Regions from separate parts of the Homo sapiens genome. Here region 1 is linked to region 2. The links are contacts of gene promoters, found by promoter capture Hi-C in human tissues and cell types (Jung and others, 2019). All regions are on one chromosome and are shown on one strand. The core of a region is centred on a gene start or on the middle of the fragment in contact, and the rest is flanking DNA. Distances in the headings are between cores, read along the strand shown.

The links. Contacts are between HindIII fragments. The study calls those that stand out against the background at their distance.
Region 1: a contact is called between a fragment that was not itself captured here and the fragment with the promoter of NPSR1 in region 2, in 2 of the 25 tissues and cell types used here (H1 embryonic stem cells and hippocampus).

What each region holds. Positions count from the first base shown.
Region 1 is chr7:34,786,980-34,790,896 of GRCh38, forward strand. The region is part of intron 3 of NPSR1 (neuropeptide S receptor 1); the gene reads left to right. It also overlaps a transcript of NPSR1-AS1 not described here. Among named protein-coding and RNA genes, the nearest start is that of NPSR1-AS1, 31 kb to the left of the region's middle. The HindIII fragment of the contact is 4,598 bases long and covers 256-3,917 here.
Region 2 is chr7:34,655,823-34,659,982 of GRCh38, forward strand. NPSR1 (neuropeptide S receptor 1) reads left to right here and starts at 2,396. Exons shown (of 9, transcript NM_207172.2): 1 at 2,396-2,737. The coding sequence starts at 2,591. All of the region lies in intron 2 of NPSR1-AS1 (NPSR1 antisense RNA 1), which reads right to left. The HindIII fragment of the contact is 11,658 bases long and covers 2-4,160 here.

The DNA of each region.
Region 1 (3,917 bases), core at 1,305-3,804, 130 kb after region 2:
AAAGTCACCACCTGCATTAGCTGTTAAAAAGAATATCATGATGTCCTTTGAAGCTTTGAAGCCAGGCATTGACTTCTCCTCTCTAGCTATAGAAGCGCTAGATGGCATCTTCTTCTAGTATTTTACTGTTTGTTTCCACTGAAAAACTATCGTTTACTGTAGCCACCTTCATCAGTTATCTAACCTCAATATTCTGGATAACTTAATGCAACTTCTGTATTATCACTTGATGCTTTACCTTGCATGTTTATATTACAGAGACAACTTCCATCCTTAAACCTCATGAAACAAACTATGCTAGCTTCAAACTTTTCTGCTGCAGCTTTCACATCTATCTCAGCCTTCATAGAGGTGAAGAGAGTTTAAGAACTTGTTCTGGATTAGGCTTTGGCTTAATGTTGCAACTAGTTTGATCATATATCCAGACCACTAAAACTTTCTCCATATCAGCAGTAAGCTTGTTTCATTTTCTTGTAATTTGTGTGTTCACTGAAGTAGTCATTTTACTTTTCTTCAAGAAAGTTTCCCTTACATTCACAACTTGGCTAACTGGCCCAAAACTAAGCTTTTGGTCTATCTTGGTTTCTGACATGCTTTTTCTCCCTAAGCTAAGTCATTTCTAGCTTTTGATTTAAAGTGAGACATGTGTGACTCTTCCTATCACTTGAACACCTAAAGACAATTTCAGGGCTATTTATTGGCTTAATTTCAATATTACTGTGTCTCAGAGAATAGGAACAGCTGAGGAGAGGGAGACAGATGGAGGAACAACCAGTTGGTGGAGCTGTCAGTATGCACACAACATTTATCAGTTAAGTTTGTCACCTTATATGGATGTGATTTACAGCACCACAAAACAATTACAATAGTATCATCAAACATCACTTGATCACAGATAGCCTTAATGGACGTAATAATAACAATAATGAAAAAGCTCAAAATAACCAAAATATGACACAGACATGAAATAAACACATAGTGCTGGAAAAATGACAGACTTGCTCAACACAGGGTTGCCACAAACCTTCAATTTGTAAAAAAAATGCACTATCTGTGAAGAACAATAAAGTAAATCATGACAAAATGAGGTATATTTGTAGTGTGTTAAGGGATATACTATATAAAAAATTTAAATTGTGACATCAAAAACTAAAATGGGGGTGGTAGAGTAAAAGTGTAGAGTTTTTGTGTGTAATCAGAGTTAAGTTATCATTTTAAAATCGCTCGTTATAAGACATTCCTTTGTAAGTCTCAAGGTAACCACAAAGCAAAACCTGTAGTAGATACATGAAAGATAAAAAGTAAGGAATCAAAGCATACCATTAGAGAAAAGCATCAACCACAGAAGAAGACAGGAAAAATAGAAGAAAGGAAAAAAAACACACAAAGCAGAAAGAGTGGAAGACAGAAAAAAAATATATGATAGCCAGAATATAATTATTAAAATGGCAATTTAGGGCACATATAACTGAAAGTAAAAATGGAAAAAAGATATTCCATGCAAGTGGAAACCAAAATAGATGAGGGGTTGCTACATTTACATCACATAGAATAGACTTTAAGTCAATAACAGTAAAACAGGGCAAATAAGGTCATTGCATAATAATAAACGGATTATTTCATCAGGAAGAAATAACAGTTATAAATATATATGGACCCTACACTGGATCACCTAAATATATAAAGCAAATATTAATAGACCTGAAGAGAGAAATAGACTGCAATAAAATCATAGGTCTTCAAAATCCCACTTTTAATAAACAGATTATCTAGACAGATAATCAGTAAAGAACGATTGGATTTAAACTACACTTTAGACCAAATGGACCTAATAGACACATATAGAACATTTCACCTAGTGGCAGCAGAATATATAATCTTTTGAAGCACCCAAGGAACATTCTCCAGGATAATCATAGAGTAAGCCACAAAACAAGTCACAACAAAATTAAGATTGAAATATATAAATTATTTTTTCAAAAACAATGACATGAAACTAGTAATCAATAATATAAGGAATTTCAAAAATGTTACAAACGTGAAAATTAAACAAGAGACTCCTCAACAATCAATAGGTCAAAGAAGAAATTAAAAGCAAAAATTTAAAATATCTTAAGATAAATGAAAATGAAAACACATCATAACAAAGCTTATGGGATGCAACAAAAGCAGGTCTAAGAGGGGAGTTTATACCAATAAATACCTACATCAAACAAAAGATTTAAAATAAATAACCTAATATTACAACTTAAGTAACTAGAAGAAGAAGAAGAGTCAGGGTTTCCCTTTCATAAAAAGGGAGAAATAATAAAAATTAGAGAAGAAAGAAAACAAATGGAGAATAGAAAAACAATAGAAAAGATCAATGAAGAGTTAGTTCTTTGAAAAGATAAAATTGACAAACCTTTAGCTAGAATAACTAGGAAAAAGAAGAAAACTCAAATAAAATTAGAAATGAAAGCTGAGACATTACAACTGATACCATAGAAACAAAAAGCATCATAACAAGCGACTATGAAAAACTAAATGTCAGCCAGGCGTAGTGGCTCATGCCTGTAATCCCAGCACTTCGGGAGGCTGAGGCAGGCAGATCACCTGAGGTCAGGAGTTTGACACCAGCCTGACCAACATGCAGAAACCCCGTCTCTACTAAAGATACAAAAATTAGCCAGGTGTGGTGGCGGGCCCCTGTAATCCCAACTACTCAGGAGGCTGAGGCAAGAGAATTGCTTGAACCCAGGAGGCAGAAGTTGCAGTGCGCAAAAAAAAAAAAAAAAAAAAAAAATAGATAACCTAGAGGAAATGGATAAGTTCCTAGATACACAAAAACTACCAAGACTTTGAGTATTGAAGGAATGGAAAATCTGAACACACCAATACTAAGGAGATTTAATCAGTAATAAAATGTTTCCATTCCAAGAAAAGACCAGGATCAGATGGCTTCACTGCAAAATTCTACCAAACACTTAGAGAAGAACTAATAGCAATCTTTCTCAAAGTCTTCCCCCAAAAAAGTGAAAAAAGTGTTTACTTCCAAACTCATGTTACAAAGTCAGCATTACTCTGATAACAAAGTCAGACAAGATACTATGAGAAAATTACAGGGCAATAACCCTGATGAACATAGGTTTAAAAATCCTCAACAAAATACTAGCAAACATATTTCAATAGCACACTTGAAATATTATTCACCATGATTAAGTGTAATTTATTCCTGGAATGCAACAATAGTTTAACATACACAAATTAATAAATGTGACATGCCACATTAACAAAATGAAAGATAAAAGGCATATGATCATCTTAATAGATGCAGAAAAACATCGTGACAAAATTCAATATCTTTTTGTAGTAAAAATGCTCAACAAATTAGGTACAGAAGAGAAGTGCTTCAACAAATAAAGACCACATATGACAAGTCCACTGCTAACATCACAGTCAACAGTGGTAAACTAAAAGCTTTTCTTCTAAGATTAGGAACAAGATAAGAATGCTCACTATTGCAACTTCTATTCAACATAGTACTGGAAGTTCTAGCCAAAGAAGTAAGGCAAGAAAAAAAGAAAAGAAAAAAGAAAGGCATTCACATCAGAAAGGACAAACTTAAATTTTCTGTTTGAAGATGACCTGATCCTACATATATATAAAATATATAATTTATATATAATATGTATTATGTTATAAATATATGTTATATGTTCTATGTTATATATAATATATGTTCTATGTTATATATAATATATGTTATATGTTATATGTTATATATAATATATGTTATATGTTATATATAATATATGTTATATGTTATATATATGTTATAGGTTATATGTTATATATGTTATAGGTTATATGTTATGTTATATATATGTTATATGTTATGTTATATATGTTATATGTTATATTATATATCATATATG
Region 2 (4,160 bases), core at 1,146-3,645:
TGGGAGGCCGAGGCAGGTGGATCACGAGGTCAGGAGATCAAGACCATCCTGGCTAACATGGTGAAACCCTGTCTCTACTAAAAATACAAAAAATTAGCCAGGCGTGGTGGCAGGCGCCTGTAGTCCCAGCTACTTGGGAGGTTGAGGCAGGAGAATGGCGTGAACCCAGGAGGCAGAACTTGCAGTAAGCCGAGATCGTGCCATTGCACTCCAGCCTGGGCAACAGAAAAAGACTCCATCTCAAAAAAAAAAAAAAAAAAAAAGGAAACAACCATATTTATTATTTTGCTTAATATTATGTTTGTAAGTTCCATTTATGTTATTTTTGGCTACAGATCATTTTCTTATTGCTATATAGTATTTCATTGTGTGACTACATGAAAATTTATTCATCCAGTTGATGGACATTTGGGTGGTTTCCAGTTTGGGATGATTCATTGATTTTGACATCATGAATATTTAGGTTGCTTCTGATACGTTTCTTTAATACTTTGCGAAGGCATCATTTTGCATGACTGCTTGTATAGATACATAAATGTTTCTCTTGGGTGGCCACAGGTTAAACAATGGTCTATCTGGATCATGAATGGAGAGAAAAGGAAACAACCAGAAAGCTCTCTCTCCCCACCTATTCTCTGTCCATGGCATCTGCCACTTTCTCTCACTCTGCCCCTACCACACTGTGACCTAACCAGCTTCTACCTTCTCCCAGGAGTTCCTCACAGATTTTGTCTTATAAACATTTTCTTGAAGTAAAACATACCTACAGAAAAGTGCATATGTTTTAAGTATGTAGTGCAAAGAATTTATGTGAATTGAGCATATGTAAGTAACCCAGATAGAGATGAAAAATTATTAGCATCTAGAAATGGAACAATGCATTAGAGGATATGTAATTCCAGCTTTACTAAATACTGCTGAATTGCTTTTCAAAAATTACCACATCAACTAACTCTCACCAGAAGTAAAGATGTACACCCGTTTCCCTTCAATCTTGTCAGCACTTGGGGATAGCCACACGCTAGCTTTCACTATAATAATAGGTAAACATTCTTACTGGTTTTAGTTATTTTCCTTAATTTTTAATATGGTTGAGCCTATCTTCATACTCATTTGTTAGTTGGAATATGCTGCACTTGTTTTGCTATTGAGTTGTTGTCCTGTTTTGAACCTTTCCTTAAGAGTCCACAGCTTATCCAGTTTTCTACACAACTCACTTCTGTTTGCTGCCCTTCATTATAGACTCAATGCCTTCTCATTGCTAGAGCACTGTGCCCTCCTTGGGGCTCGATGGTTTATAATAAAGCTTCCCCAGGAGATCTCATGGGGGCCAGGTTCTTTAGTGGTGGCCACTAAAGCTACTACCTCTTATTCCAGGTGCCATAAACCAGTGGCTGGACCTGGTTGGTTCACAGAGTGTTCTCAATGTGAGGAATCAGGTATTGTGCTTGGTTGTCATATAAGCAGCTTAGTTCCCATTGTTTTATACCTGGCCTGCTACCCTCATTCATGTTACCTTCATGCCCCATAGACATTTGAGATTTGATGCAAACCAGTCTGTTACAGTAAAAGCACCACTGTCTAGGAAGTTCTGGAGATGGGTTATCAGCTCATTTACATCAGCAGCTGCGGGATCTTGGGCAAGTCATTTCACCTATTGGAGCCACTCTCTGCTAGCATAAAGGAGAACATAAAGATACCTTCCCTGCCTATCTCACAAGGTTGTTTGGGAAACTGAATGAAAGAACGTGTAAATGTGCTTTGCAGGTTTTTTGTGAAACAGGAATAGCTGTTAGTATTCTCGCCTAGCCCTGTCTGTGGTGCCCAGGATGCTGCATTACCTCCTTTCTACCCTCGCCCTGAGTATTGGTCCTAGGTAGAAGCTGAGGTGAATATACTGAAAGCAGTAAGAATCTTCACCAGGCCCCTCCCAGTCATATCACAAGGTGTTGTAGCTTATTGACAAACACAGACCTCATGTTTCTCTGAGAACCGCCCTGTGAACACCTAGATAGAACTAAGGGTGTGAAATACAAACGTACTATTTGCCTACACTTACGGAAATAAGAGCACATGACACAGTAGATGGCAAGGTGAGGCTTTAAGTCAGAAAGCAACCTCAGCTGAAACAAATGCATAATTATAATTTGATTTCAGAAGTGGAAACATGACCCGAATTCATGCACCTACTGATTAGTCCAAATTCCTTTATTGTTGAAGCTGGAGCAGAAGTGGGGGTCCACCGTGGAAGTAAGGAAAAGCAAAACAGAACAGGGGTCTCATCCAGGGAGCCATGTCGATGGCTATGGGGAGCTCCACCTTGCTCTTGGGGTGGGGCCCTGGCCCTGGGTGGGACTGTGGGGTGATGAGGGTTGTGCTATGCTGGCTACCTGGTGGTAATTGCCAAGGAGAGAGCAGCACGTAGATCCTCCCTGTCATCAGGCAGAGCTCTTCAGTGAGGTGGGCTCAGGGAGGGCTCTGTGCCTCCGTTCAGCAGAGCTGCAGCTGCTGCCCAGCTCTCAGGAGGCAAGCTGGACTCCCTCACTCAGCTGCAGGAGCAAGGACAGTGAGGCTCAACCCCGCCTGAGCCATGCCAGCCAACTTCACAGAGGGCAGCTTCGATTCCAGTGGGACCGGGCAGACGCTGGATTCTTCCCCAGTGGCTTGCACTGAAACAGTGACTTTTACTGAAGTGGTGGAAGGAAAGGAATGGGGTTCCTTCTACTACTCCTTTAAGGTAAGTTTCTTGCCTGCGACTCTGAACACTGACTTATAACAATGAGACTGCTGGAACTTAAGAGTGTCAATTGAAGTATCATAGCCAGTATTGTGAATGAGTGTTATTTTCTTTACTAAAAAGGATTTTTAAAAGTCTGAAGTGCTAAAACAACAAGCTGTAGTGTGCAGAGACCTAGATTGTAGTTTCTTAGGAATACAGGTGACGTTTTTCTTTCTGATGCTGCTGGAAATGTGTGAATCGTGAGTAACATTTATGAGTGGATGATTTTTACTTTCCCCCTTTCCTTAGGTGAAAGCACTTTTAATTAATCCTATAGCAGTACTTGAAATGTCTGTTTCTAGTAGGGGTTAGAGCTATGAGTTTTTTGCTAGGAACACCAGAGATGCGGAAAGCTCACAATCCCCAGGACAGTGACTGATATGATGAGAAACAACATTGAATAAGGCAGGAAGGACGACACTTTCTTTGATGATCCTTTTCATTAAACATCAGTGAGGAATATATTTCTTTGAGGGTAGTTGATGATGCCACCATTTGCAACAAATTACCTCCTAGAACAAATGAAGGACAGAGAGTTTGGTGAGTTTCACCTTCAAAGTATCCAAGGGCCACACTGAGGAAGGATCTTCATTAAGCTAATACTGTATTGTTTCTTATTCCGCAACAAGATCTTGTGGACAGAAATGAACCGCACATTTGGGAAAAGAACAGTTTCCTGCTTCTTGCCTCAGAATGCTGGGTTGTCAGGTTATTTCACACCTGTCTAACGATATGTTTAGTCATTGCAATAATTCACAGGTCTCAAACTGGTCCTTTCCACTGAAGAAAAAATACTTCAAAAAGATTCTAGTTGTTGCTTTGTTGGGTTTTGTTGTTGTTGTTGTTGTTAATCCTCTGTATGTTCTTGAAATGATTTGGTTTTTACACAATGAGATAGCATTACTGTAACATCCACCTCCCTACTGGAAGTTCACTTCTTTTGCAAATATTCAGAATAAAACTTTCAGCAGGGTGCTGTCCCAGGAGTCAGACTTAAACTTCCAGGGCCCTAATGATCCTGCAGCAAAGCAGAACCTGAGCAAACTACTCCTCCACTGGCTTCAGTGAAACCCTGTCCCTTGGAATCACCTCCTAATGCATATGCACATACGCAGCCCAGCTGCACAGCTCCACGATGTAGCTTAGAAAGTAAAATTAGAGTTTGTTGCCACTTAATGTCGACTGAATAATCCCCTTTATGAAATCAGCCTGCAGACCCAGAGAGTCTGTCTTGGCAGGCTGTGTGCACCCAGGAAGCACAGGACTCCACTCAGTATTGCTGCCTGTGTAGCCTCTTTGATATTCTTAGAACATGATAGCAAGCAGAATGAAGAGAGGCCCTCCATTGCAAAGGGAATAAAATCAGCAATAAGGTGGTTAT